Linked DNA regions of Homo sapiens: regions 2, 3, 4, 5, 6 and 7 are each linked to region 1. Evidence: promoter capture Hi-C in 16 types of primary human blood cells and fetal thymus (Javierre and others, 2016). All regions are on one chromosome and are shown on one strand. The core of a region is centred on a gene start or on the middle of the fragment in contact, and the rest is flanking DNA. Distances in the headings are between cores, read along the strand shown. Region 1 holds the start of FOXN3 (forkhead box N3). Region 2 overlaps EFCAB11 (EF-hand calcium binding domain 11). Region 3 overlaps EFCAB11 (EF-hand calcium binding domain 11). Region 4 overlaps LOC124903356 (a long non-coding RNA gene). Region 5 has its middle 170 kb from the start of EFCAB11. Region 6 has its middle 180 kb from the start of EFCAB11. Region 7 has its middle 170 kb from the start of FOXN3-AS2.

Region 1 (4,214 bases), core at 689-3,188:
TGCTCTCTTTCTTTTTAATTTGCTTATTTGTCAGTAGCTTCCCAGAGGAACTAACACGCTATTCTCCATGTTTCCTTTTGTTTTAAACAAACACTGCCAGCAATATGGTTTTAGGAGAAAAAGTGGCATTGTCACGAAGAGAGGGTTATGGGAGTTCAGTACCCTTGGATCATGTGTGCGTTTTGTGCTGGGACCCCGTACTCTCCAACCACTCACTGCATCCCTATAAATCCCGCATTTTATACCAACAGGGTGAAGAGCTGCTGATCACTACAGTTCCATGTAAAAACAAAACAAAACAACAATAACCAAAAAAAAAAAAAAAAAAAAAAAAAAACAGTTCCCAGAAACCACAGCTGAGGAGTTTTCCATTATTATACTCTAACTACAGATTTCGCCAAATCTTTTTTTCCTCCTGTTTCAGAGGGAAAAAAAAAGAATCTGGATCATGTGAGTTGCAGTTAAGCAAACATTTTTAATCTGCTGCCAACAAGGCTGCTCCACCAGATACGCAAATAGTTATTCACTGGTGACCTCCTTACAACTTTTCTCTACACACACACACACACACACACACACACACACACACCCTCTTTTGTTTTTTTTATGACTTGCTGTGTTTTGTTACCCTCTTTATTTTTTAACGGAGAAAATGCGGCAAGAAAGCTTAGTTTCTCGCCTAGTAAACAGAAGGTCTCCAAATAACTGACAAAGACATTACTGGCCCAGCTCTGAACAGATGTTCGATGCGAACTTTAAAAAGTTAAGAAATCTTCCCAGAGCCGAGCAGTAGCGAGTTTGGGGGGCCGGGTCACCCCCGCCCACCCAGCACGCGCGCGCGCGCACGCACGCGCTTCACTCTCGTCTACTGTACTTGTCAAAAACATTTCAAGGGGACCTGCGGGAGTGGCGATTGGCTGCACCCCGCGTCAATCAGCGGCGTTGCCGGGCAACGGGGGAAACTGCTCTTATCCCCATATACAGGGCAATTGGGAGCTCGCATACCTTCACTGCCGGTCAGATGTCATAAACCTTTTATTGGCCGCACCGCGGCGAGCCTCGAAAACAAATCAATAAAAGCCCGCCGTCCCCCAACTTATCCAGGGCCCAAGGAGGGTTTCAAACAGGGCCGGGATGAGGGGGGTCGGGCCTCGGGGGTCTCCGGAGACGTTCGTTGCCTGTGCCAAGTCTGCACAGTTTGGCCGGGGGGTGATCTTTGTTAGGAGCCTGTTTCTCATCTTGGGGTCTCCACTTGATCGGAACCCCCTCCCCGGCCCGGAACGGCGGGGACCCCGTCCTCCGCAGACAATACCAACTCTGTTCCTTGCGGGCGTCTTTTCGGAAACCGAGGCACCGGGAAGCAGCACGCACGTCGGGGCAGGAAACTCTTCGGACCCGGCAACTTCCCGGCTCGGGGGCTCCCGGGGTCCACACCCGACCCTCCCCCCAGGACCTGCGGGGTCCCTCGTCTTCCCAGAGCGGCGAGGTAGTCTCCAGGACCGTCTCGGACGCGCCTCCCGCCCCGGGTGCCCCCCGAGCCCACGCGGGAGCCGGCAGGAGCGGGGTGCAAACTCACCTGGCCGGAGCGGGGCACGGGGGTGCGGGGGCGCCGCTGCCCTTCAGCAGGAGCCGACAAACTTTCGCGGGCGCCCGGCGGGCATCGCTCGGTGGCCCCGCTAAGGACGCGCGGGCGCGGCGCGGCGAGCCCGGGGCGGCGGGCGGCGGGGGGCGGCCGCGGGCGCGGGCGGCAGGGGCGCGGGGGTCGCGGCGCGGCATGGGACCTGCGGCGTCCGCCGGGCGCGCCGCGCGTCCTCCCGCCGGCCCCGCCGCTCTCCCCGCCCCGTCCCGCCTCCCGCTCGCCTCCGCCGCGGCGCGTCGGGCCGGGGCGCGCCGAGCGGCGAGAAATTGTTTCCACTGCAAACAAAAAAAGGCGACACATGACCAGGCAGGAGGAGGGGAAGCGCGGGGAGGGAGGAGGGCGGAGGGAGGGACAGAGCGGAGGGCGGAGGGAGCCGGAGAAAGGGAAAACGTGGGCCTGGCCGCCAGCGGCCTGGGGCGCGGGGCACTGACCCGCCGGGGCGGACCCTGCCCGCGCCCCTCGCGCGCCCCAGCACTCAGCCAGGGCGGAGGCCGGGGCTGGGCCGCGCGGCCTCGCCTCTTGGGCCCCGCGGGGCGGGGGTGACCGGCGCGGGTCCCGCGACCCAGGGCGGCCGCGACCGTGGGCGGTGGGGCAGGTGGGTCAGGCGGCGCGTGCCCTGTCCCCTCCCCGGGCTCCGGCCACACGAGCGGGCCGGCGCTGCGCTGCTGGCAACGTGTCGCGGGAACGCTCCTACCCCATCTGCATGCCTTACATGGCTCGAAAGTAAAAATAAAAAGAATTACGATGCGGGCGAGGCTTGTGGGGGTGAGAAGAGGAGATTCCACGTCTCCCCAGTGCTGCGTCCTGATAGGACCCCCAGGGCCTTCCGAGCCCTCTCCCAGCGACCACCTCGTGTCCCGGAGGTAAGCACCGCAGCGTCCCACCCAGGTGGCCGCGTGTCTCCCGAGGGAGGGCCGGTGGCCATTACAAGACAAGAGGCACCGTCCTAAAGGCCACGCCGGTGGGGCCTCTCAAGTGGGTTGTGCGGAACGCCCCGGCCGGCCTAGAGAGAAAACAGGTCTCATTTCCATCTCAGTTTGAGCTCTCAGGAACCAGACTGACAATTCGCAAGCCACCCAGCGAAATGGTGCAGCCACCACTCTAAGTCTCTAGGCACCTCCAAATAATAGCACCCACTGCTAAAGCCACACCAACCAGCCGCCTTGGGAGAGGATGAGAGGAGAGAGTCCAACAGGACACCCTGGTGGTGACAAAAATAAAAATGTGATTGCACATTACTCCCAGGTAGCCAAATTGGTTGGTTCCTCTACAGAGGAGAAGCCCAGGGCACCCTTCCTGCCACCCCCTCCTGAGCCAGTGGACAGGACATCGTGAGCGGTCTGAAAACTACAGAAAAAAACAGCGAGTAGACCTGGAGAAAGCTTTCTAGCATGCAGTACTTTTAAACCTAGCCAAAAGGAGGGACTAAGGGAAACACCAGTTAGGCTTCTGAAAATTTTTTCTGTCTCAAAAAATAGACCCCCCCCCCCCAATCTGAGAGTCATTCCCCCTAACAAAGGTTCAAGAGGGCAGGTGACAAGTCTTCAGCAAAGATGTGCCTTTCAGACTCACCGGAGACCTTACTACTTCCAAGTTGTGTGGCATCTCCCCATCTGGAGACAATTAGGAGGTGGAAGCCCAGGGGTAGCCTGAGGTCATCCAGCCCCACCCCTTTGATTACTGAGCACTTGATGCGACCTACCCAAAGTCACTAAGCAAAAGGCACAAGGTGGCAGAGACAAGTCAGATGATCTTTGAAGTCTCACGCCAGAGATTCTCAGGGTTAGAAGTGGTAACAAAGCCAGGATGAGACAATGTGTACCCTGCTTTCCTGTAGCTCCGGCTAATGCAGGTCCTGCCCCTCCATCAGCGCGTCAGTTGAGGGTGCTTATTCTCCGCCAGAGGAACCAAGGCCAGAGACCTTTGTCCAAGCCCTTGCTGGCCTAGAGAGGACGAAGTCGCCCCCTTACATCTTCCTCTTCCATCCCCAGCCCCCAACCCCACCCCCAAGTCCCCCAGCTACACTCACACAATAGCCAGAAATCTCTTTATATTAAGTAGAGGTGGCACCTTATTTTCACCGGCCCCAGTCCCCTCCTGCTTTCTCAGAGTTCAAAAAGAGGGGATGTGAGCCAAAGGTGATTGTACATGGAATATGTCATTCCATGTGTGTTTTTGCTTCTTGCATTCTCAAACATATTTCTTAATTTCTCTCTCCCATTACAGTTGCAGCAAGAGATGTGAGAAGGTGTCACCCTGAAGAGGAAGTGGTGGACCAGCCCTGCCTGATGTGGACAGCAGGGGACACATGTCTGCCTGTCGGTCTATCTGAAATGGGGGAAAAAATGCTGAAAGCCAAAGGAGGGCTTAATGTGGCCTTTTCCACCTTCTAATTCCATAGAACCTCAGCTCTGGGACTTGCTTCCTGACCTAGGGTGCAGGGGCCAAATTTGTTTGGGAACAACCCCATTCACAATTCCCCATGAACTTTCAGAAAGGACCCTTGCGTCTTAGGTCCTGAGAAGTCACAAATAAGCAAGCTGCATTGTCTAATGTCTTGTCTACACTGTTTTAC
Region 2 (4,214 bases), core at 1,271-3,770, 500 kb after region 1:
GGGCAACAGAGTGAGACCTTGGTCTCGAAAAGAAAAAAAAAAAAGAGAGAGACAGTTATGAAATATGTAGGGAAATTCAAAACCTGATCTCTCTGACTCCAAAGGCTGGGTTCTTTTGACTGTATCTCAGGACACATTCAAGCAACAGGCTACTGCTCCATTTGGACTTTTTCAGGGCTAAACAGTAAAGGGTTAAACAAACCTAGCCGCCCCCGCCCACACACACACAAAAAAGCAATGTTCCTGCTGTCACAGGAATATATTAATGGTTAAAAAAAAACACATAGTAATAATAACGCAAGTCAATATTTTTAAAGACCTAAATTCGACAATAAATATAGCCAGGAACATCACTCTTCTTCTCTGTACACATTATTATCATTTGCTCCTCCACTCTCCAGGCAAGCACACTAAAGGCTATTTCCAGGATGGAGTCAGATGTTACACAACTTTGCAATTTCCAATATGTGAATATTAACATAGACCAATGACATTATTACAGAAGCTTACTAGAAATATATTCTGCTGGTCACCAGAGGGATTAGCTTTGCTTCCTAACCTTAGAAAATGCGATAATTTGGGCATATGTTTTCAGTACAAATTTTTCAAAAACTACGAAAAATAACGCTTATTAAGAAAGGCTCCTGGTTAACCTTCTGTTCTTTCAATCAGTTTCTTAGCAGAGTTTTTGGCACCACCAACTGGTGAAAGAGGTGTACTGCAAAGGTGCTCGGCTCTCAATCTGTTTGGTTCATTAAGAGAGGATCATGCATTTATTTCATATTTAATTTACGGTGAATCAATTTATTTTAGTCACTAAATAAAATTAGAAATGCATTTCTTTGTCAGTCAAATAAATAATAATCCACTCTGGCTTTTTCACCTGAGAAGAAAGTATGTTTTGGTTAGTAAAGGTCATCAGAGAAAACTCAATCTACCCACCAAAGTTAATTTGATTTATTCTGCCATAAACTCACACTCAAAAAGCAAACACTGAGAACTACAATGAAAATTAGGAACTAAAAGAGAGAGCAAACTAAATGGTATCAAATACTATGCTAGCCTACAGTGTTTATATAAGACATTAATTTAACCGGAAATAAAAATGATTGAGGAGGTAATTTCACATTTGTTAAAAAATTGAACTTTTCCCACCAAGATTCCTGTCTCAAAGATGGATGCTGCCATTTGACATGTGAATATATATGCTATCTAGCCATCCTTCCTGTTTAATTGAGCCACACCTAGCAATGGATACCAGTATCAAGAGAGCAGAGCCAAGCCCTTAAGGCACAACTCCGATCTCTGCACAGTGAATCATGAAAATAAATACCCCTGAAGAACAGTCTAATTTTTCCCCCCAAAACAATTTGTGTTTTCTAGGGAGAATGGCTCAGAAAAAAAAAAAAGAAAAAAAGAAAAAAACAACAAATTTGTGGATACAAGTTGTCTATGAGAAGTACATCTAGCTACTTGTGATGATAAATTTGTAACCCACAGAATAAATGGCACCAACTCTATGACAAAACTGGTCATTGAAGAAACTTCTTTACTAGACAATGTGAAAGAGACAGAAAAAAGGAAAGAACCATCCAAAGAATCAAATTTGACTCTGATGGCAGGGTTTGGTTAAAAGCCATCTGACAGAGTTTAAAACTACTGTGACAATTTTGTGATAATAGCAGTTTAAATCGCTATACAAATGTGTACTCAATTCATATTTGTTAAAGCCTCCAAGTCTAAATCTCCAATTGAAAGCCTAGTAAAGAAGACCATTTGAAATAGGCCCAGAAAAAAGTAAGGGCCAGCAGCTGCTCTATCCAATTCAACACATAATTTGAACATGTAAACTTTGATCAGATTAATTCTATTCCTTCGTTCATTTCATTCATTTATTTGTTCATGTATTCGTCAAATACTCTCTCCTGCAAACAGAGTTAAATTTTTACAAGGAGAGAACAAGAGTGAGACCCTCCTGCCCCTTCCTCTCCTTGGACAAGAGTCTTGATATCCCACGGCAAGGATTTCTAATTGAAGTCATGACTGGATTATGAGGAATCCTAACAATAAGACTTGGGTTAAGAAAAGCATTTTTAAACTTTTATTTGTTTCTTATATCCTTTAACATGACTCATGTCATGAGTCTCACTAAGTCTGTGTAGACATTTTTTGAGGTATGACTGACAAAAAATTGTCTATATTTAAGGTATACAAGATGACGTTTTTATAAAAGTATACTTTGTGTAATGACTCACAGTCAAGCTAATTAGCATATCCATCACCTGACATGCTTCGTGTGTGTGTGTGTGTGTGTGTGTGTGTGTGTGTGTGTGTGTGTATGTGTGTGTTGAAAACACTTAAGATCTGCTCCCTTGGCAAATCTGAAGTACACAACACATTAACTATAGTTACCATGCTGTACACTAGATCACTAGAATTCATTCACCCTGTAACTAAAATTTTGTATCCTCTGACCGACATCTCCCCATCTTCCCCACTTCCCAGCCCCTGGCAACTACCATTCCACTCTTTTTCTCCAAGTTTGACTAGTTTAGATGTCACATATAAGTAATATCATGCAATATTTGTCTTTCTGTGTCTGGCTTCTTTCACTTAGCATAATGTCCCCAGATTCCTCCATGCTGTTGCAAATGGCAGGATTTCCTTCTTTTTTAAGGCTGAATAATATTCTGCTGTACACACATACCACAATTTCTTTATCCATTCATCCAGTGGTGGGCACTTAATATGGGTTTCCATATCTCGGCTATTGTGAATAATGCTGCAATTAACATGGGAGTGCAGACATTTTATTCTACCTGTAAATTCAGTCTACTCCATCATTATCATTACTAGGCAGTGGCATTTCTAAACAAGAAAATAACATTTTGAGGTTATGAAAACACTTGACCATTAACAAGTACCAGCAACATGATTATAATCAAATAAAAAATTCTGATTGCCCTAGGGGCTTGGTTCTGTGACTTCTTTGACCAAAAAAATAATAATAATTGCGAATTAGTTGTTTGGTTTGAATTGAGCAATAAAGGACTCTCAGCTTTAACTGTAAAATGGATAGAAATGCCGTTGATGTGGAGAGTCACTGTAAGGACTAAGTAAGGCAACACGTAGTTGGTAATCAATGAACGGGAAGCACTGTGACTGCAGTGGACAATACAGTGCAATGAAAGCTGGGGAAGAGCGAGAATCGAGGACTGGCTCTCCAGGCAGGGTGTGAATGCTGTGAGAAGCTGGCAACAATGAACCCTGAGAAAAAGGACAGGGGACAACTGGAGGTACTTAGTTGGGGAGAGCAGCTTTCTAGGATGGATATGAGTATATCTTCAGGCAGGGATAGGCATTATAAACAGAAGTGGGAATGGCTGATGGAGAAATGTCTTAGATCAAAAAAAGGGGAAGAGAGAAGACCAGAACAAAAGAGAGGAATTAGGAAAAAAAGAAGAGACCCCTTTTCCTCAGAAATAAAATTAAAGGAAGGCTGGGCGTGGTGGCTCACGCCTGTAATCCCAGCACTTTAGGAGGCCAAGGCAGGTGGATCACCTGAGGTCAGGAGTTCCACACCAGCCTGACCAACATGGTGAAACCCCATCTCTACTAAAAATACAAAAATTAGCCGGGCATGGTAGCACACGTCTGTAATCCCAGCTACTTGGGAGGCTGAGGCAGGAGAATCGCTTGAACCCAGGAGGTGGAGGTTGCAGTGAGCCGAGATCACACCACTGCACTCCAGCCTGGGCAACAGAGCGAGACTCCATCTCAAAAAAAAAAAAAGAAGAAGAAGAAGAAAGAAAATTAAAGGAATACAGAAAAGAGATGAAGAGAAGGCAGTAAACCCAGGAAGAGGCCATGATCCTCTCCATGAAGAAAAAGGCAAGATCACCTGCAAAGCACAGTAGTGGGAAAGGTTTGGTACAACCATCACAGAGAATACATCCTTACAGAGAGAGCAAGAGATTTGATCTCATATGACAACTCTAATGAGCTGGCTTGGGGTATTGTACTGAGAAGAACTCTGAGTTCTGCAGAAGAGGGCAGCCACAGGTACAGGAGGGGTCAGTGGCAGGCATGTCAACTACGTGCCATCCCTATAACAGGGAACTGAAGCCAGCTGAGTTACATTTCTCCTGGATAGCAATAGGGGTATTGTCTGACCTGAGTGACAGGCATACCAGATCTCTGCATGAAATGGAAGG
Region 3 (4,214 bases), core at 980-3,479, 470 kb after region 1:
ATTACAAAGAAGGAAATAAAACAGAAAATGCTGTTGCTATGGTCTGAATATTTGTGCCTGCCCCAAATGCATATGTTAAAACCTAATCACCAATGTGATGGCTGGAGGTGGGGCCTTTGGAAGGTAATTAGGTCATAAAGGCTGAACCCCCATGAATGGGATTGGTGCCCTTATAAGGGGCTGAAGAGACTAGAGTTCTCTCCTTTCACCATATGAAGACTGTAGTAGGCTGTTCTTGCATTGCTATAAAGAAATATCTGAGCTTAGATAATTTATAAAGACAAGGTTTAGATGGCTTATGGTTCTGCAGGCTTTACAGGAAGCATGGCGTTGGCATCTGCTTGGCTTCTGGGGAAGCCTACAATCATGGCAGAAGGTAAAGCAGGAGCAGGCATGTCACATGGCCAGAGCAGGAACAAGAGTTGGAGCAGGGGAAGTGCTACACACTTTTAAATGGCCAAATCTCACAAGAACTCACTAACATGAAGACAGCACCAAGCCTTGAGGGATCTGTCCCCATGATCCAGACACCTCCCACCAGGCCCCACCTCCAGCATTGGGGATTACAGTTCAACATGAGATTTGGGTGGGAACAAATGTCCAAACTATATCAAGGACACATTTAGAAGGTACCATCTGTGAACCAGAAAGTGGGCCCTCCCCAGACTCCAGATTTGCCAGCTCCTTGCTCTTGGACTTCCCGGCCTACAGAAGTGTCAGAAAAAAATTTCTGTTGTTTATAAGCCACCCAGTTTATGGTATTTTTATTATAGCAGCCCAAATGGACTAAGACAGCTGTCCTGTCTTTGTTTATAAAACCATGGCGCTGTGATACTGTCTCTGTTTGCAGTTCTAATTGCTAAATTTCAGAAAATACCAAAAGGGAAATACAGAAAGAACCATGGCAGTAAATTAGTGGTCAAGGACCAGACAAATGGAAAAAACAATTCAAATTCTCCAACCCAGAAGAAACACAGAGGCAGAGAAAAGCCTATGAGATCAGGAAGGGTTTGCATGATAATTAGAATGATTTTTCAAATCTGAAAATTAAGAGCCATGAAACAACACTGAAGATTAAAAGGGGCTGTATGAAGACAATTTCTTCCTTTTTTTGACAATTTATTTTAATCACCATTTTAAGGAAATGTATGGAACATCTTATTCATGAGGTGAGACAAAATGAAAGTAATTTTCAAAAAAACCCAAATAAAGTATTGGATAAAATCATGGATTCGAAGCCTTACTATGAATCCTGTTTTACTACTTATTAGCTGTGAAATATGAGACAAATTTTTTAACTTCTCTATCCCTCAGTTCCCCATCTATGAAATGGTGATTGTGAGGATGAAACGAGTAAAGGGCTTAGAACAGTGCTTGCCAAATGGTAAGTGCTTAAAAAACTTCAGCCACACCTCCACATGTAGAAAAAAGTTAAGACAGCAGACCTGACTGCAATTCTGCTTACAAGCCTGGCCCTTGACTGGCATCTGGGAACTTGGATTTCAGGAAGGTTCCTACCACCATTAACTGGTAAGAGTTGATCACTGTGCTTAAAACTGTTTGTGCAGACAACATGGCTCCCACTGAATACTTGCTTTCCTTCTGCGAGTCTGAAATTTTGGCACATGCCAGACAGAGAATGCCAGTGTGATCAGCCCACAATTAAACCCTGGGCACTGAGTCTCTACTGAGCTTCCCTGGTTGGCACATTTCACATGTTTGGTCACAGCTTACTATTGGGGAATTGTGTTCTCTGTGACTCCACTGGAGGGGAACAATGGGAAACTGGCATCTGGTTTCCCCTGGACTTCACCCCATGTACCCTTCCCGTGTGCTGGTTTTGCATTGAATCCTTTCACTGTAATAAATCATAGCCATGAATACGACTGTAGGCTGAGTCTTGGAAGTCCTTCTAGTGAATCATCAAATCTAGCGTTGGCCCTTGGGGACCCATCAACACACTTGGACACAGTTAATCAATTATTTTGTCGTAGGTATAAGTACTATAAAATGCACTTTTATAAATATTGAGTTCAAGTTCAAGAAAAGTGATTTTTAGATATAATACCTTGATAAAAACAGAAACACTGCATGATTTCTTCTCATAAATAATGAATGCAATAAAAATGTTAAGCTTCAATGACATGATCACTAAATTACATCAGTATTTCCTAATACTATGGTTTTAGGTTATACGAAAATAAATATTTAGCTTACAACTTCTAAATGATATTCAATATAAGAGCAATAAAAGGTCAGAAATACTTGGTCATATTCTTTAAACAGCAATAGAAGATAAAGTAAAGCTAAAATGCCAGAATTACTAAGCTTTAGAAATGCATTACTGATTTTATATATTTTCTATATCTCTTACAAATAAGTGATACTCTTTTCTAACACTTAATAATTCTTATTGTCTACCTAATAAATCAATATTTGGAAAGCAGAATTTAGAAGGAAAAGTTTGGGAGACAAAGTATTTAAGAATTCACATGAGTTTCTGTTTTTGGATACTCAGATCAACTCCCCACTGCAAAAAACTAAAGATGCTGGATAAGACACTAAAACAAAACCACCTTAAAAGGACTGAAAAATTAAAAAGAGCTGCCAGGCCAAATTCTTGAGGCTAGCTTGAACCCAAAGAGGTTAGTGGAAAGAAAGTTGGCATCCCAAAGCCACCTTTGCCCTGAAGGCATTCACTCACATCGTGCACTGGGGCTGCGGTCTGGTAGCCTCATGGGGAGACGAGGCCAGAAGTGAAGATCCAGGACTTTGCCAATTTGGATCATCTCACAGGATAACTTTCCCACATTAAGCTGAAATCCAAAGGACTACATGAAAGTTTCCCTGGTGCTGAGCAAAGGAGTAAGAGAAAAATGAAATAAAAAACGATCATTCACCCCTGAGAAGTTATGAGTGTTGACTGACCCTCACTGGGAGAGTCCCTGGGATCCTAGGTCTAAACATACCTTGAGTGAATACAGAAACTTCCATCTGTGGATTTGTTTTAATATAGTCCTGTACTGACTGTGCTACAAGGAGCCTGGCAAAAACACATAAACCACTCTGATTTCATCCTGGACTTGTGGAATTCCTCATAAATTATTTTTCAAGGTCGGTGAGCTCCAGAAAGTTGAATACAAACAAGTTTACAGGGAAACTAGTCACCATGAGCAAGAACCAGCAGAAGCAGACATAAATAGACTTCAACTAGAGGTTCTATGTTTAAAAATAAATAACTTGAAGTGACTTCAGGGAATAGAAAACTATAAGATGTAACAGAGGATTTTAATAAATGTTTATAACCTTTTAATACCTTTGTACTTTTAATTCATTAAAATTACTTAAGAGTTTGAGATATTATGGTAGAAATCAGAGTTTTTCAAAGTAGCAGAAAACAATGTATTGTCAGAAGCAAGAGGTTTCTGATTATGTTTATAATTAAAGTTATAAAATTTCCAAGGCAATATTTTATTTATATTAAAATAGCAAAATCTGTACCAAATATAAAAAGAGGGAATTCTCCCTAATTCACTGTATGAGGCCAGTATAAGCTTGAAATGAAACAAAACAAGAAAGGAAAATTACAGCTCCATTTTAGACACAAACACACACACACACACGCACGCGCACACGCACACACCACCCTAAGTAAAATATTAGCAAACTGAATCCTACTGTGCATTAAAAAGATAATAGGATAGGGACGCGGCCATGGAGGCCGAGGGCTGCCGCTACCAATTTCGGGTCGCGCTGCTGGGGGACGCGGCGGTGGGCAAGACGTCGCTGCTGCGGAGCTACGTGGCGGGCGCGCCTGGCGCCCCACAGCCCAAGCCCGAGCCCACGGTGGGCGCCGAGTGCTACCGCCGCGCGCTGCAGCTGCGGGCTGGGCCGCGGGTCAAGCTGCAGCTCTGGGACACCGCGGGCCACGAGCGCTTCAGCTGCATCACCGGGTCCTTTTACCGGAATGTGGTGGGTGTCCTGCTGGTCTTTGATGTGACAAACAGGAAGTCCTTTGAACACATCCAAGACTGGCACCAGGAGGTCATGGCCACTCAGGGCCCGGACAAGGTCATCTTCCTGCTGGTTGGCCACAAGAGTGACCTGCAGAGCACCCGCTGTGTCTCAGCCCAGGAGGCCGAGGAGCTAGCTGCCTCCCTGGGCATGGCCTTCGTGGAGACCTCTGTTAAAAACAACTGCAATGTGGACCTGGC
Region 4 (4,214 bases), core at 772-3,271, 400 kb before region 1:
TTCATGTACAAGCTTTTGTCTGAACATCTTTTCATTTTTCTTGGATATGTAACTAGGAGTGAAATTGTTGGGTCATATGTTAACTTGGTGACAATGGTTAACTGAGAAACTACCAGACTTTTCCAAAGTGGCTGCACCATTTATTTATTTATTTATTTGAAGTAGAGTCTTGCTCTTTCCTCCAGGATGGAGTACAGTGGTGCAATCTCAGCTCACTGGAACCTCCGCCTCCTGGGTTTAAGCCATTCTCCTGCCTCAGCCTCCTGAGTAGCTGGGACTACAGGTGCGTGCGACCACACCTGGCTAATTTTTGTGTTTTTAATAGAGATGGGGTTTCGTCATGTTGATCAGGCTGGTCTTGAACTCCTGACTTCAGGTAATTCACCCTCCTCAGTCTCCCAAAGCTCTGAGATTACAGGCGTGAGCCACCGCGCCTCGCCAGCTGCACCATTTTACATTCCTGCCCGCAGTGTATGATAATTCCAATTTCTCTACATCTTTTCCAACACTTTTTATTGTCTGATTTTTTTTATTATAGCCATCCTGTGAATGTGAAGTATTATCTCATTGTAGTTTAATTTGCATTTCCCTGATGATAAATGATGGTAATATATTTTTGCCTGTTGGTCATTTGTGTATCTTCTTTGGAGAAAGTTCTCTTCAGAAACTTTGCCCATTTTTAAGTTGAATTGTCTTTTTATTACTTAGTTGTAAGAGTTTTTAAAATATATTTTAGACACAAGTGCCTTACTGATATATTATTTGTAAATATTTTCTCCCATTCTGTGTGTTGTCTTTACACTTTCTTGATGGTATCCTTTTAATCATGAATATTAATTTTGACAAAGCCCAAACAATCTCCTTTTCTGTTTGTTGCTGTGCTTTTGGTATCATAATTAAGGAATCATTTTAAAATAAAAATCACAGTGGTTTGCCTTCTAAGATTAAAGTTTTATTTCTCACAGTTAGGTCTGTGATCCATTTTGAGTTCATGTTTATATGTAATGTGAGGCAAGGGTCCAGATTCATTCTTTTGCATGTGGACTTCCAGTTGTCCCAGCACTATTCGTTGAAAAGAATACTCTTTCCCCATTGAATTTTCTAGGCACTCATCTTGAAAATCAATTGACCATGCATGTGAGAGTTTATTTCTGGACCCTCAATTCCATTCCACTGATCTGTCTGTCCGTCCTCATATAGACAGTACCACATGTTCTTGATCACTGCAGAATTGTAGTTAGCTCTAAAATCAGAGAATGTGAGTCCTCCAATGTCGTTCTTCTTTTTCAAGATTGTGTTGGCTGTTCTCAGTCCCTTACACTTCCTTAAGAATTTTAGTATCAGCTTGTCAATATCTGCAAAAAGACATCTGAGATTTTAATAGGGAATGTGTTCAATCTGTAGATCAGTTTAGGGAATATTGCTATCTGAGTAATATTAACTCTTCTAATCCATGAACATGGGATATTCTTCTATTTATTTAGACCTTCAATTTCTTCCAACAATGATTTTTAGATTTTTAGTCTTTTGGATATAAGGTTTGCTTTTTTTTTTTTTTTTTTTTTTTTTTTTTTTTTTTTTTTTTTTTGAGACAGTGTCTTACTCTGTCTCCCAGGCTGGAGTGCAGTGGTGCCATCTCGGCTCATGGCAACCTCTGCCTCCTGGGTTCAAGCGATCCTCCCACCTCAGCTTCCTGAGTAGCTGGGACTACAGGTGTGTGCTACCACACCTTGCTAATTTTTGTCTTTTTAGTAGAGACAGAGTTTTGCCATGTTGGCCAGGCTGGTCTCGAACTCCTGGCCTCAAGTGATCCACCCACCTCAGCCTCCCAAAGTGCTGGGATTACAGGCGTGAGCCACCTTGCCCAACCTACTTCTTTCATTTATTTTTGAGTATTTTATTCCTTTTTACACTATTGAAATGGAATTGTTTTCTCAATTTTATTTTCATTGTTCAATGCTAGTATATGGAAATACAATTGATTTTTGTATATTGATTTTGTACTCTGAAACTTTGCTGAACTTGTTTGTTCTAATAAATTTTTAGTGGATTCCTTAGGATTATCTGTATACAAGGTCATTACATATGTTTCTTCTTTGTTTCCAATCTGGATACCTTTTATTTCTTTTTCTTACCTAATTGCCCTGGCTAGAACTCAAATACAATGTTGAATAGGAGTGGCAAAAGTGGACATCCCTCTCCTGTTCCTGGTCTTAAGGGGAAAGCAGTCTTTCACTATTACGTATGATGTTAGCTGTGGGGTTTTCATAGATATCTTTTAAAGGGTTGAGAAAGTTCCTTCCTATCCCTAGTTTTTTTTTTTTTTTTTTAGCATTTTTATCATAAAAGGATGTTGAATTTTGTCAAATGCTTCTTCAGTAGAAATAACAGTGTAATTTCCTAACAATCTCTCCAGTGTTTTGCTTGGAGTAAAAAGTCTTGGGGCCACTTCACTAATTTTAGCATTAGCCCCAAGCAAGGAACACCTAAGATCTGCCAAGTCACTGGCTTTGGGACATCTAAGAGCAGAGGAGCACCCCTTTCCCACACACCTTTTACTCCAGCTGGCCTTCCACTTAGACCCCAGTTGAACTGTCCTATTCAAGGGCTGATTCCTATGACCATGGATAATCAAGTCCTGGGAGATCAAGAGTTGAATTTTCATGGCAATCAGATCAGATTCTTTCTTTGCCTTTTGGGGGATGGTTTTTTCTCATCTTGACCATAATTTTCCTCTAATTTCTACTCATGGGCATTTGAACTTGGGCATAAGACATACATATACTGAACTCAATTGTTTTGTAAGTGTTTCACAGGTTTTTATTTTGCCTAGGTAGTCAAGGAGTAATTTTTTTTTTCTTTGAGACAGGGTCTCACTCTGTCTCCCTGGCTGGAGTGCAATGGCTCAATCTCAGCTCACTGCAACCTCCACCTACTGGGCTTAAGTGATCCTCCCCACTTAGCCTCCTAAGTAGCTAGGACCACAGGTGCACACCACCACACCTGGCAATATTTTTGTATTTTTTTGTAGAAATGGGGTTTCACCCATCACTCTGAGCAAACTATCACAAGGACAGAAAACCAAACACCGCATGTTCTCACTCATAGGTGGGAATTGAACAATGGGAACACTTGGACACAGGAAGGGGAACATCACACACTGGGGCCTGTCGTGGAGTGGGGGGAGTGGGGAGGGATAGCATTAGGAGATATACCTAATGTAAACGATGAGTTAATGGGTGCAGCACACCAACATGGCACATGTATACATATGTAACAAAGCTGCATGTTGTGCACATGTACCCTAGAACTTAAAGTATAAAAAAAAAAGAAGTGGGGTTTCATTATATTGCCCAAGCTGGTCTCAAACTCCTGAGCTCAAGTGATCTGCCTGCCTTGGCCCCCGACGTGCTGGGATTACAGGTGCGAGCCACCATGCCCAGCTGAATAAATTCTCTGAGGGCAGAAACCACACCTTTGAGCCTTTCACAGAACCAGGTAAACTATTTGTCACAAAGAACAGACTTGATAAAGACACTTTACGACTAATCTCAACCTTTTAGCAAAACTGTCACATGTGACGTGCTATCCGGCCTGTACACCACCACATTTCCTATGTTTGGAGGATGCTGAGCAGGAGAGAATGACACAAACACATTCATGAGAGAAGAAACTGAAACACAGAGCCCAGGGGCCACCCAGATCCCTGGTTTCAGCTGTCCCTGTGTGGCTTTATGGCTTCCACAACACAACAGGAGGGTCTAAATGAGTAAATTGAACATGGTACTGAAAGAAAAGAAACACTGCCATCCCAATATTCTTTTAAAACTTCACGAGAAAGCCATATTCGCCAGCTTAATCAAAGAGACTTTGTCAGTATCTAATGTCACAACACAGATCATCCCACGCAATATTGTCTGTCACTCCCTAATGCAGCTTGAAGAGAGATATTGACAAAGTATGGCATGATGGCATTATTAGATGGCATGCATGCCCCCCGGGGCATGACAAATGCCACACTCAGCTCAGAGAAGCTTCACTGCCAGAAGTCTTCTCACCAGTGATAGTAACATGACAAAGCTTTCATGTTAGGGCATCCTATCTCTCCTTCAACACCCTCCCCACTCCAAATTCTGATCTAGGGCATTGCTCGCTAACATAGAAACCAGAATTTTTCACTGAAGAGAAAAAAAAAAGCAATGATCCATTGTATT
Region 5 (4,214 bases), core at 878-3,377, 370 kb after region 1:
CAAAGGTCTTAAAAGAGAATTGATTGAAAGATTTGAAAGATTCAGAATAAGTCCTCTGGCCACAGTGAAATTAGCTAGAAATCACCAAAGAAAACTAGAATACCCACAATTTTTGAAAATTTAACATTTCATTTCTGAACAGCGCATGTGTCAAAGAAGCAATCACAACAGAAATTAGAAAATATGTTTTATGATAATTATAAAGAAGATAAAATGTATAAAAACTTTTGAGATGCAGCTAAAGCAGTACTCACTGGAAATTTATAACCTTAAATATATATATTAGAAAACAAATACTGGAAGTCAATGATCTTAATTTCTCAAGCAGCTAAAAAACAAAGAGCAAAAAAGGAGGGAAATAATAAAGAGCAGAAATAATGAAACAGAAAACAAACAGAAAAGCAACAAGACCAAAAGTTGGCGTTTTGAAAAGGTTAATAAAATTGATAAATTCCTAAAAAGATCAATCAACTAAAGTGTGATGGTTAATATTAAGTGTCAACTTGATTGGATTGAAGGATGCAAAGTATTGTTCCTGGGTGTGTCTGTGAGGGTGTTGCCAAAGGAGATTAACATTTGAGTCAGTGGACTGGGAGAGGCAGACCCACCCTCAACGTGGTGGGCACCATCCAATCAACTGCCAGTGCGGCTGGAATAAAGCAGGCAGAAGAAGGTGGGGGAAGCCGACTTGCTGAGTCTTCTTGGCCTCCATCTTTCTTCCGTGCTGGATGCTTCCTGCCCTCCTTGGAACATCAGACTCCAAGTTCTTCAGCTTTTTCACCAGTGGCTCTCGGGCCTTTGGCCACAAACTGAAGGCTGCACTGTAAATTTCCCTACTTTTGAGGTTTTGGTACTTGGACTGAGCCACGACCAGCTTCCTTGCTCCTCAATTTGCAGACGGCCTATCGTGGGACTTCACCTTGTGATCATGTGGATCAATTCTCCTTAATAAACTCCCTTTCGTATATACATATATCCTATTAGTCCTGTCCCTATAGAGAACCCTGACTAATTCAGAAAGATAACTGAATATATATTTTATACATGCAGGTAAAATGTATGGAAATGTAACAGAATTATGAAAGCCACCTTAGAGTGATTCATACAACTTTCCAGATTTATAAATAGAAGAATAGGATCTGTCTATATAGTAAAAGCTTAAAGGAAGAATTAGGCTTGTTAACCATTACAGCTTTAATGTAGAAAACATGTACTTTGTAAAATCAAATTAGTCCCTGAGTAATCTCACAATGACCATGCTGGTTTTCCGAGGCTGTGACTCAGTGCCAAGCTGAGGCCAAGCCACCAGGACTGCAGAGAGAACAGGGGGAGGGCTCCTCCCAGTATGCGGGTGTGCGCCACTCATTAGCAGCCCTTTCGAGACCTGCTGCAGGGTGAATCTAGGAACTACACCTTATGGGTGCATGGCACCTTACAGTTTTCTCAGCACTGTGAGAAATTACCAAGTTCAAAAGAAGTAGAAAGGCCTTTGTTTTCAATAGGTCCAAAGCTAAGGGATTTCTTTCCTTGAAACGTATATTGAAAGCAATATAATAGAAAGCTGGAGACTTTCTTTTTTTGAATGTTTTCAAAATGCAATTCAAACATACTTGAAACTATATGAGGTCTCTTCTTGGTCAGAAACCAATCCGAGTCATAGAAGAGGCTGTGAACACACTTCCCTACGGCAAAGGCCTGACCCTACTAGGGAGGCCATCGTTGAGGCTGCAGTCAGAGGGTCCCAAAAAGGTGCCGTAGGTGGCCGGGCGCGGTGGCGCACGCCTGTAATCCCAGCACTTTGGGAGGCCGAGGAGGGCGGATCGCCTGAGCTCAGGAGTTCAGGACCAGCCTGGGCAACATGATGAAACCCCATCTCTGCTAAAAATACAGAATTAGCTGGGCGCGGTGGCGCACGCCTGTAATCCCAGCACTTTCGGAGGCCGAGGAGGGCGGATCGCCTGAGCTCAGGAGTTCAGGACCAGCCTGGGCAACACGATGAAACCCCATCTCCGCTAAAAATACAGAATTAGCTGGGCGTGGTGGAGCATGCCTGTAATCCCAGCTACTCAGGAGGCTGAGGCAGGAGAATCGCTTGAACCCAGGAGGCAGAGGTTGCGGTGAGCCGAGATCGCGCCACTGCGCTCCAGCCTGGGCAGGAGAAGCAAAACTCCATGTCCCAGACAAAAAAAAAAAAAAAGTGCCGCAAGTGGTGCTCTACACGGGTTTTTTGCTAAGTATTCCATAACATTATTCCGAAAAGTTATGTACTCCTTTTTCCATATTTTTAATTGATACCTTAAACTTTTATTATAAATTTAAATAGTGGAAAGGTATAGAAGATCCACCATAAAGTAAGATCTGTTTTTTTTGTTTTTGTTTTTTTTTGAGACGGAGTTTCGCTTTTGTTGCCCAGGCTGGAGTGCAGTGGCATGATCTCGGCTCATCGCAACCTCTGCCTCCCGGGTTCAAGTGATTCTCCTGCCTCAGCCTCCCGAGTAGCTGGGACTACAGGCATGCACCACCACACCTAGCTGATTTTTTGTATTTTTAGTAGAGACGGGGGTTTCTCCATGTTGGTCAGGCTGGTCTTGAACTCCTGACCTCAGATGATCCGTCCGCCTCGGCCTCCCGAAGTGCTGGGATTACAGGCGTGAGCCACTGCGCCCGGCCAGATCTGAATTTTTTTAAAAATAAACTTTTTACTTTAGAACAGTTTTAGGTTTATAGAAAAATTAAGATAGTATAGAAATTAATACATATCACGCACTCAGTTTTCCGTATTATGAACATTGTATGTGTATGATACCTTTGCTGCAATTAATGAGCTAATGCTGGTACATTATTAATTAAAGTTCATACCTTATTCAGATTTCCTAGGTTTCCCACAGTGTCCTTTTCCTGTTCTAGGATCCCATCTAGGCTATTGCATTACATTTAGTCCCCATGGCTCCAGAGGTTCCTCTTGGAGTTTCTTAGGCTTTCTTTGGTTTTGATGGGCTGGATAGTTTTGAGGAGGATTGGTCAGGTATTTTGTAGAAGATCCATTCACTTCTTAAGAACATATCTCGGTTGCTTCTAGGTTTTGGTGATGATGAAGAAAGCTTCTATAAACATTCATATGCAAGTTTTTGTGTGGATGGAATTTTCAAACCAGTTGGGTAAATACCTAGAAGCTTGATTGAGGGGTCATGTGGTAAGACTATGTTTAGCTTTGTAAGAAACTGCCAAACTGTCTTCCAAAGCGGCTGTACCATTTTACATTGCCCCTAGAAACAAATGAGAGTAGAAATTATCCAACTGAAACAGGGAGAGAAAGGAGGAAGGGGAGGAAGAGCATGAAGATGTGGTGGAGAAGAATAGACAATGAGAGATGTGTCAGATAATATTATTGATATAAAGTATGTACAACTGGAGTTTGAGAAGGCCATTCTCTTCAAGATTGTGGTAAATGGAGTATTTGAAGAAATCATGGCCCAGAGATTTCTATGTTTGATGAAAGACATAAAGTGTTCTGGAATTTTGGTTTCAATTTGTAGTAAGGGGGAAAAATCTGCTCATAGAAGTTTGAATGTCAGCCAAGGAGCAGGTCAGATCGAATGAACCTTAGATGGTCCAATATATGCAATTCTAGGAATTAAGGAAGGAAAGAAGAAAGGGAACAAGGAAGGAAAAAAAGAAAGAAATGAACAAATCCTATCCCATGGGCCGTCCAAGACAAGTAGCAATAGTGAAAGCTTGGTAAGGAAATGGACTCAAGAACTCTCTCTGACACATTTGACCTTAGAAAAGTTATTTAAAATTAAACTTGGCTTCCTTATTTAAAATTAAAAAGATGTTCAAACCTCACTTCTACCTTAAAATGACTGTTGCTATGACAATACACACAATATATTTCCAGCCCCTTGGTCAAAATTTTTTTCTATAAATTCAATATTATTGGAATTGCTCTTTCTGAAGTCACATACTTTAGCCAACTTAGCTGTTTTGCGCTCTGCTAAAATTTTTTTCAAGGATCAGTAAAGCATAAAATAGGGAGTATATTTGGATTTCAGTTTATGTTTTCACATAAATTAATCTGCATTTTCTCTGAAGTTAGAATAAATTCTTTTTTATTCACATTTCTGAGTATTTCGTCAACTTAATAATCTAAGAAACATTTTGATTGGACACTCTATATTTTATTATGTTAAATTGTTTTAAGCTACTTTTCAATC
Region 6 (4,214 bases), core at 840-3,339, 350 kb after region 1:
ATGCACACAATTTTTGTTTTCTCGGAAATAAAATCATATGAGCTAGACCAGTGGTTCTCAATCAGGGTGATTTTTCCCCCACAGAAGACATTCAGCAATGTCTGCAGACATTTTAGGTTGTCAAAACTGGGGCAGGTGGTGATACTGGCATCTAGTGGTTGAGGCCAGAGATACTGCTAAACATCCTAAAACGCACAGGCCAGCCCTCAACAACAACAAATTACCTAGCCCCAAATGTCAAAAGGCCCAAGGTTAGGAAACTCTGGTCTAGACCACGGTTAAGCAAACTACTGCCCTCCTGGTTGGCTACCTGTTTTTATAAATAAAGTTTTATTAGAACACGGAGATGTCCATTCATTTCTATGTCATCTATGGCTGCTTTGACTTACAACGCAAGTGAGCAGTTGTAACAGAAACTGTGTGGTCACAAGTCCTAAAATAAATATGAGCCACATATGAAATTTCAAGTTTTTCTAGTAGCCACATTTTTTTAAAGTACAAAAAAAGCAGGGGAAATTAATGTTAGTAATATGCCCCAAATATTATCATTTCAACCTTGAATCAACATAAAAATTAATGAAATATTGTTATATTCTTTTATTTCCATATTAAGTCTTCACTTACAGCACTTCTCAATTCAGACTAGTCACATTTTTTTTTTTTTTTTTGAGACGGAGTTTTGCTCTCATTGCCCAGGCTAGAGTGCAGTGGCACAATCTCAGCTTACCACAACCTCCTCCTCTCAGGTTCAAGCGATTCTCCTGCCTCAGCCTCCCGAGTAGCTGGGATTACAGGCACGTGCCACCACGCCCGGCTAATTTTGTATTTTTAGTAGAGACTGGGTTTCTCCATGTTGGTCAGGCTGGTCTCGAATTCCGACCTTAGGTGGTCCACCCACCTCAGCCTCCCAAAGTGCTGGGATTATAGGCATGAGCCACTGTGCCTGGCCCAGACTAGTCACATTTTAAGTGCTCACGTTGCTGGTGGCTATTGTATTACACAATGCAGGTCTACACTGCATTTTTCACTAAACTGCTTTTTTAAATTATTTTACTTTTAATTTTATTTTATATATATTTTTGAGACGAAGTTTCACTCTTGTCACCCAGGCTGGAGGGCAGTGGCGCGATCTCGGCTCACCACAATCTCTGCCTCCTGGGTTCAAATGATTCTCCTGCCTCAGCCGCCCTAGCAGCTGGAACTACAGGTGCATACCACCACACCCGGCTAATTTTTTTTTTATTTTTAGTAAAGACAGGGTTTCACTACGTTGGCCAGGCTGGTCTCGAACTCCTGACCTCAAGTGGTCCCCCTGCCTCGGCTTCCCAAAGTGCTGGGATTATAGGTGTGAGCCACTGTGCCCTGCCACTAAAAAAAAAAAGTGCTGCTTTTTTTACTTAATGGAAATAAAAGTCTTCTCATGTCCACCATATATTTTTATATCTCTTTTAAAGCGTTCAACTTTTTTAAAAGATTCCAATTTTCTGGATGTTTATATTGCTTCTGAGTTTCACAATTATGAACGATTCTGCCACGAACATTCTTAGATAAAGCTTTTTCACCTCATCTGTAATTATTTCCTTAGGATAAACTCCCAGATGTGCGTCAAAGAGCAAAGAAACATTTTTAAGGGTTTTGAAATATATATATTTTTAAGAATAATACCTTCCCTACAAGATGATTACAAGAATTACGTTAGTACATGTAAATCAATTTTATTAATTCAAGTAAGGTCAATAAAACTTAAAATAGTAGGCTGGGCACAGTGGCTCACACCTGTAATCCCAGCACTTTGGGAGACAGAAGTGGGCAGATGACGAGGTCAGGAGATTGAGACCATCCTGGCTAACACGGTGAAACCCCGTCTCTATTAAAAATACAAAAAATTAGCCAGGTGTGGTGGCAGACGCCTGTAGTCCCAGCTACTCGGGAGGCTGAGGCAGGAGAATGGCATGAACCCAGGAGGCGGAGATTGCAGTGAGCCGAGATTGCGCCACCGCACTCCAGCCTGAGTGACAGAGCGAGACTCCCTCTAAAAAAAAACAAAACAAAAAAAAAACAAAAAAAACTTAAAATAGTAGAACCTGGCACATAAAGGCACTCTATAAATACCATCTATTATTGGTATCAGTATTGCTCCTGAATTTATCTCCAGCACTGTGGTTCTAATTATACTTCCACTAACAATGTCTAAGAATGCTTGTTTCTGGTATACTCTTTCTAATACTATTATTTTTATAGCCCTTGCAAATTTGATATACGAAATTGGCTTCTTGTTATTGTTGGTTTAATCTGACTGTAGTTCATTCATTTTCTTCGATTTAGGATGTTTTTCTTGGGTAGAGTTGTTACAAGCTCAGTCTATAGCCACATGTTTAAGGGTTGGACCATTTTTCACCAGAATGACCAGGACAATAAGTGACCATTTGTATCAGTCAGCTTTCACTAGGTTACATGTTGTAACAAGTGCTCCTAACATCTCAGTGGCTCACAATAACAAGTATGTATTTCTCACTCACATTGCATGTGACAGCCCAGGCTGAAAGAGCGGTGCCCATCGGGGACATGCCATTCCCATGGAAGAGGGAAAGGAATAAATGAGAAAGAAAGCAAGGGTGAAGCCTCCAAAGCTTCAGCTCCTACCCGCACAGACTCCCTTCCGCTTGCATCTCATTAGCCAGAGCAAGTCATGGTGCCAAGTCCAATATCAATGGAGCAGAGAAGTGTATTCCCACCATAAGAGACACTGCAAGCTACATAGCAATGTGTGGGAACTGAGATAGGGAGCAATCCACCAGTAAAATCGATGCAATTAACTAATTGTGTGCCTCTATTCGCCTCAAGTCAGGATTCCCCCTATATGATTCATTACAGTTCTCATAGAAATGATAAGCCCCATCCCCGCTAGCCACCGTGGGAACAGACAACAGATACTGAGCTGCTGTACTGCTTCCAATGGGCTCTAAAGACAAACTGGTCTGGAGAGACCCAGCCTAAACCAAACACGAGGACATCTCCCACTCCCTGCTTAAAGGGGCAAACTTGCCTATCAATGAAAAGAACTTTGTGCCTAAAGTCATCATTACATCACCGACAAGTAGGAAACAATAAATCTCTGATCTGATCTAACCGTCATCAAACAATCATCCATCATACACAGAGAGTGTAATGGTTCCTTAGAATAAAGAGGATGGGGTTTATACTGCAGTTGGCCTCACCTGTGAGATCAATAGTTGCTATCAGCAGCAGCAGTAGCATAGTCACCACCATCACCTCCAGCGCCTTTTAAGGTCAAGCCAGTTACCATACACCTGAACCCAGCCAACAGCACAGGATGTTTACAGATAAAAGGACCGACCCCTGTCCTAAAGAATTGAGCCCTTGGCTCTGCTAGCATGGCTGGTTGGAAAATTATTATGCTACTTGAATCCTCATAAAAATATATTCCTAAAATCCTAACACTAGACAGTTTTAGAATCAATAAATGTATATTAAAATTACAAGCTGTTCTACCCCAACCCTGAAAGAAACCATTCTAGAAACATGAAAAACAAAAAAGAGCAAGGCATGTTTCCTAAGGTAAGTCACTTCCTATTTGAATCATTTATTTATATAACAAGCCTTTCTGGACTGATTAAGGAAACTGCCAGTTACACTTACCAGCTGTTCCTCAGGTTGGGGAGAAGCATGGCGTTTTCCTCCTGCTTTACATGTGAGTGCCTGTGCTGGAGATTTTTGTCCTCGTATCCAAATTCTCTCCCTTTCTGTCAGTCTCTGGAAGGACTCGATGCTCAAAGAAAAACACTTCTCATCCTGAACCAGTGGCAAAGGGAAGAAAACCAACACGATCCTTTACATCCCCCTGGGCTGCTAGCTTCCTTGAGCCTTAGAAAATGATCAGGAATGAAAGTACGGTATTTTCTTCTTCATCCGTTTTTAAACTTTAGGTCTCCCAACGCCCAGCTCAAATCCTACCTGTCCTATGAAGGCATTCCTAACGACCTCAGCTGAGAATGGTTTTCCTTCCCTGAACCTCAATTGCAGCTTCCTGATTTTACCCCCCACCAGCACTGTCTTCACTGCCTGGTAATGTTGGTTAACTTCCCAAGTGGGCTGTAATGGCTACTGATTTTACAGGTTCATTCTAGTCTCCCTTCTTCTGAGGTTTGGAGTGATTGGTTCGGGGTGAGCCTGTAACCCCAGAGGGACCATTC
Region 7 (4,214 bases), core at 621-3,120, 330 kb after region 1:
GCCTCTTTATTTTCTCTTTATTTCGAACACTAGGACTAGCAGAACTGATTTTTTGACAAAGGAACACAGCCTCAAGAAAAAAAAATCACATTAAGCCAGGTGCAATGGCATGCACCTGTAGTCCCAGCTACTTGGGAGGCTGAGGTGGGAGGATCACTTGAGCCAGGAGTTCAAATACAGCCTGGATGACATAGCAAGACCACATCTCTTTTAAAAAAAATCACATCATAAAATGTACTGCATAAAGAACTACACATCGAGAACAAAACTCTGTTTATTTGACAGTCAGCTAGGATCACTCACTAGCTAAGAAATTCACTCCCGCCCACAAGCCTGTGACTCAAATTCATGGCTCAGCAAAATTACAAATGACTGTATATCATGGATCTGGTATTTATAAACAATCAACACCATACATGCTGACCATGCGGAAGGTAAGCGTTTATGATATAACAGGTAAATGTGACAATAGCATTGACCCCATCTCATTACCAAGCCTGAAACATGTCTGCATGAATACATATGCATACACACGTGAGTTTGGAGATATATATATTTTCATGTTCTCTATGATTACCTAAGACGTTATCTCAGAATAGTGGCTTACAACAACTACAATCATTTCTTCTCGTGTCACACAGTTCTAGAAGTTGACTGAGTTCAGCTAGGTGGTTCTCGCTCTGGGACTGGCCATGGTTGCAGTCAACATGTAGGGAGAATTAGAATTTTTTTTTTTTTTTCCTGAGATGGAATTTCACTCTTGTTGCCCAGTCTGGAGTGCAGTGGCGTGATCTCGGCTCACTGCAACCTCCGCCTCCCAGGTTCAAGCAATTCTCCTGCCTCAGCCTCCCGAGTAGCTGGGATTATAGGCTTGCGCCACCACGCCTGGCTAATTTTTTGTATTTTTAGTAGAGACAGGGTTTCTTCATGTTGGCCAGGATGGTCTCAAACTCCTGACCTCGTGATCCACCCGTCTTGGCCTCCCAAAGTGCTGGGATCACAGGCATGAGCCACCGCACCTGGCTGCTAGAATCATTTTAAAGGCCTCTTCATACACCTGTCTGGGGCCTGGACTGGGAAGACCCAAACAGTTGCAGGCTAGAGCATGAAGACAGGCGACTCCTTGGGCATCTCTCTCTATTTCTGTTTGGTCTCTCCATTTGGTTGTTCCACTACGGTGGCTTCAGGGTATCTGGACACTTACACGGTGGCTGGTGACTCAGGGCTCCAAAGGCATGTGTCCCAGGAAAGAGACATGCTATGCTCTAACATAATCACATGCTTCCCATCACCTTTGCTGTCTGCCGCTGATTAGAAGCACATCACAGGTCCCACCCGCCCTTGTGGGGAAGAGCATGACACAAGCTGTGAATACGAAGAGGCAGGGATCATGGCGGCCTCCTTAAAGTCTATCTGCCACACTTAGTAGAATTTAGCAATGTTGCCCCAGGTCACGTAGCTAGTGAGCAGCACAAACAGGATTTGACCCCACGCAGTCTCACTCCAGAGTCCCCATTCTCGAATGGTACCCTATAGGGCCACTCAGTATGAGTGACTATTTTTCAATAGTTCTCATTTTCATTTTAAATGAATACATTCTCCTCTGTGTCCTCAGTTAGTAAGAGACTACACTACTCCCGCCACACTGGCAGAATCATGCTTCTGGGTCTACAGAGCTGAAGACCAGACTCTGACACATGGCGACTTCATGCAGGTAATGCCGTACCCATCAACAAAGTTCCCTGCTGGCACCTGTTCCATGATCGTCCCCTCGAGTCACAAGAATATACCTAACATATTTGTACAAACTGAAAAAGAGATCTTGTCAGAAGACTATGCATTTCTTTAGAACATCATCAGGCCAGAAGCCCATGGGCAGGAACAAATGGGTAGTGGAAAAATGGAAAACAAGTGGGAGAAAGTTCTGTAGATGCTGGGACTTCAGCTTTGGAAAGGCCCCTGGCCACAGCTGATTTTCTGCAAGGCAACCGGCTGAAAAAATACATCTCTGCAAAAATAAAGAAAAGCCTAACCGAGTGCAGCCGCCATCCTCCCAGTAATGAGATTTGGAGGATTACTGCTGAGATGAATGGAAGATATCGTATGGTCACTGCTAGAAATGTTTGCCACCCCGGTCTAACTACACGAGTAGACACTAGAGTTCTTAGCAGGCCCACATATGTTTGATTTTAATTAAAACGTGCTGAATGAACTGTTAGCAGCACTGAAATAATGAAGAAAAGCAACGTAAGACAAATCGGCTAATAGACAACTCCAAACATTCTATTTTATACCCTTCAGTTATGTTAATGGAGGTTTCCAATATGTTCTAGCTGAAATAATCATTACACAAACACAGTTACATAATAATCTAAGGGGTAGATGAAAATATAAATAACTGCAGCAGCAAAAACCACAAATGGGTCAAAGGATTACAAATTCATTTTCTCAGTCTTTATTCGAAAACAATTTAGTGAGTGCTTATTGGTTATTATGTGCCAGGCACTCATGGGCTAATGCCTATGATGAAATCATCCTAGTGTTTCCAAATATACACTTTTGTTTAAGATAGCATGTTCTATGAGTACCAGGGTGCTGTGTAGAGTATATCTCCAACCACATGATGAAACAAAACAGCAAGCGACTCTTGAAAGGGAGAGACCATCATTTTAAGTCATTTCAAAAGCTAGTTCATATGAAGGCAGAGACTCTGGCCAAGATCTTAACAAATTACATTTTATTCAGTGCACAAGAAATTAGCACAGCTGCCTGAAGGAAAATATGTCCTGGGATTGTGTACACAGTGCAAGGCCAAAGGGCAGCCATATTCCAAGTAGACCGTAAACAGGAGGTTTATTGGAGGCCTTTCCAAAGAACGCGACCAAATTTCAGCCGTGAGATAACCAGAATTCCAGCCAAAATTGGGAGTGATGGAAACTGTCAAATGTCTTTGGATCTTTTGTGGAGATTAATCCCTTGGCTGTCCAGTCTCTGATGAATGAAGGAGAATAATTCAGAGTCACTGAACACCCTTGCTCTTAACTGGAGAGGCAGGATATCAACGAGGTAAGTGAACGCCAATGCATTTAGAGTTTATTTACAACTAAACTGCTAAAGCCTCAACTCATCCATATTCAATTAGAGAAAGTTGTGGTTCATCCAAGACAAGACGTGAGCCAAAATTTGGGGCGAGGGTGACATCATCTGAAAGGGCTGGAAATAAAGTGTAAATTTGAGTATCATCTGTATATAAGTGATAATTAAAGCTGTGCAACTCAACACGTGCCAAGAGAGAAGGTCAATAAAAATGAAGAACAACAGGGTCCCAAACCACATGTTACTTCTAAAATGAAGATTTATTTTTTTTAAGGTGGTGAGGGTGAGCTTTTCTTTCCTGCTGCATAATCTCAAAACAGATACAGATCACCTGCAAGGAAGACTCATTTCTGCAGAAAGTCACTGAATTACTTGAACATTGAGCTAAGGAGAGGGGCTTTTCTGTGTGATCTATATTGCAAGGAAGTAAGAAGTCATTCCATTTAGTTTGGGGAAGACCTCCCCAACCCCCTAAAATAGATCACTTTAGTAAATAATATCTAAGAGAACCACCAATTCAAGCTGATACTTGATTGTCCTTTTCAAGTCTGGTGTTAAATTTGGGCAGGAAACACAAGTTGCTTTTATCTGGGTGCTCGATAATTTCATTCATGCAGTGAAGAAATAGGTTCTTTATTCTCAGCTGTGTTTGAACACTTTAACAATGGGATAACTGAAGTAAGATGCAGCTTAAATCAAATGAAATGGAGACTTGCCCACAAGGACTTATTCATTATAAAAAAGGGCAGCTCTTGTCCTAATCGTTCCTCTAGAGATCTATGACTTAGGGCTCTTTTTATTTTTGACTACCAGCTACCTTTCCAAATCATGGAAGCTTTCTAAAAATACCAAGTTCCTCAGTAGCTGGAGCTGAGCAGGGAGTGAGCCTAACCATAAATGATGGGTGTTATGGGTTTAAATTGTTTCCCTCTCAAAATCATGTGTTGAAATTCTAACCCCCAGTGCCTCAGAAGGTGACCATATTTGGAGACAGTGTCATTAGAGAGGCAATTAAGTTAAAATGGGGTCACAAGGATGGACCCTAATGCAATATGGCTGGTGTCTGTATAAAAAGAGGAAATTAGAACAGACATGTACAGAGGAAGGACCATATGCAG

What was found. The method cuts DNA at HindIII sites, captures the fragments that hold promoters and counts their contacts. A CHiCAGO score of 5 or more calls a contact.
Region 2: a fragment that was not itself captured here is called in contact with the fragment with the promoter of FOXN3 in region 1 in 14 of 17 cell types (megakaryocytes, endothelial precursors, M1 macrophages and 11 more); the score reaches 17.8 in megakaryocytes.
Region 3: a contact is called between a fragment that was not itself captured here and the fragment with the promoter of FOXN3 in region 1, in 6 of 17 cell types (megakaryocytes, endothelial precursors, M1 macrophages and 3 more). The highest score is 7.7, in megakaryocytes.
Region 4: a fragment that was not itself captured here is called in contact with the fragment with the promoter of FOXN3 in region 1 in 1 of 17 cell types (M2 macrophages); the score reaches 5.4 in M2 macrophages.
Region 5: a contact is called between a fragment that was not itself captured here and the fragment with the promoter of FOXN3 in region 1, in 4 of 17 cell types (naive CD8 T cells, total B cells, neutrophils and 1 more). The highest score is 7.2, in naive CD8 T cells.
Region 6: a fragment that was not itself captured here is called in contact with the fragment with the promoter of FOXN3 in region 1 in 15 of 17 cell types (naive CD4 T cells, naive B cells, total CD8 T cells and 12 more); the score reaches 18.4 in naive CD4 T cells.
Region 7: a fragment that was not itself captured here is called in contact with the fragment with the promoter of FOXN3 in region 1 in 9 of 17 cell types (activated CD4 T cells, total CD4 T cells, naive CD4 T cells and 6 more); the score reaches 12.8 in activated CD4 T cells.

What each region holds. Positions count from the first base shown.
Region 1 is chr14:89,415,295-89,419,508 of GRCh38, forward strand. FOXN3 (forkhead box N3) reads right to left here and starts at 1,939. Exons shown (of 6, transcript NM_005197.4): 1 at 1,577-1,939. It overlaps FOXN3-AS1 (FOXN3 antisense RNA 1), which reads left to right and starts at 2,060. Exons shown (of 2, transcript NR_036500.1): 1 at 2,060-2,502; 2 at 3,866-4,214. RefSeq lists enhancers at 791-1,085, 1,100-1,633, 1,634-2,166, 1,791-2,085 and silencers at 1,781-1,990, 2,031-2,320. The HindIII fragment of the contact is 2,355 bases long and covers 665-3,019 here.
Region 2 is chr14:89,914,760-89,918,973 of GRCh38, forward strand. All of the region lies in intron 5 of EFCAB11 (EF-hand calcium binding domain 11), which reads right to left. Among named protein-coding and RNA genes, the nearest start is that of EFCAB11, 38 kb to the right of the region's middle. The HindIII fragment of the contact is 4,035 bases long and covers 504-4,214 here.
Region 3 is chr14:89,888,080-89,892,293 of GRCh38, forward strand. All of the region lies in intron 5 of EFCAB11 (EF-hand calcium binding domain 11), which reads right to left. It also overlaps the pseudogene RAB42P1. Among named protein-coding and RNA genes, the nearest start is that of EFCAB11, 65 kb to the right of the region's middle. The HindIII fragment of the contact is 194 bases long and covers 2,133-2,326 here.
Region 4 is chr14:89,018,563-89,022,776 of GRCh38, forward strand. The region is part of intron 1 of LOC124903356 (a long non-coding RNA gene); the gene reads left to right. Among named protein-coding and RNA genes, the nearest start is that of TRA-AGC15-1, 42 kb to the left of the region's middle. The HindIII fragment of the contact is 4,022 bases long and covers 11-4,032 here.
Region 5 is chr14:89,786,444-89,790,657 of GRCh38, forward strand. No RefSeq gene overlaps it. Among named protein-coding and RNA genes, the nearest start is that of EFCAB11, 170 kb to the right of the region's middle. The HindIII fragment of the contact is 1,944 bases long and covers 1,156-3,099 here.
Region 6 is chr14:89,767,813-89,772,026 of GRCh38, forward strand. No RefSeq gene overlaps it. Among named protein-coding and RNA genes, the nearest start is that of EFCAB11, 180 kb to the right of the region's middle. RefSeq lists an enhancer at 430-479. The HindIII fragment of the contact is 1,077 bases long and covers 1,552-2,628 here.
Region 7 is chr14:89,747,860-89,752,073 of GRCh38, forward strand. No RefSeq gene overlaps it. Among named protein-coding and RNA genes, the nearest start is that of FOXN3-AS2, 170 kb to the left of the region's middle. The HindIII fragment of the contact is 4,117 bases long and covers 1-3,929 here.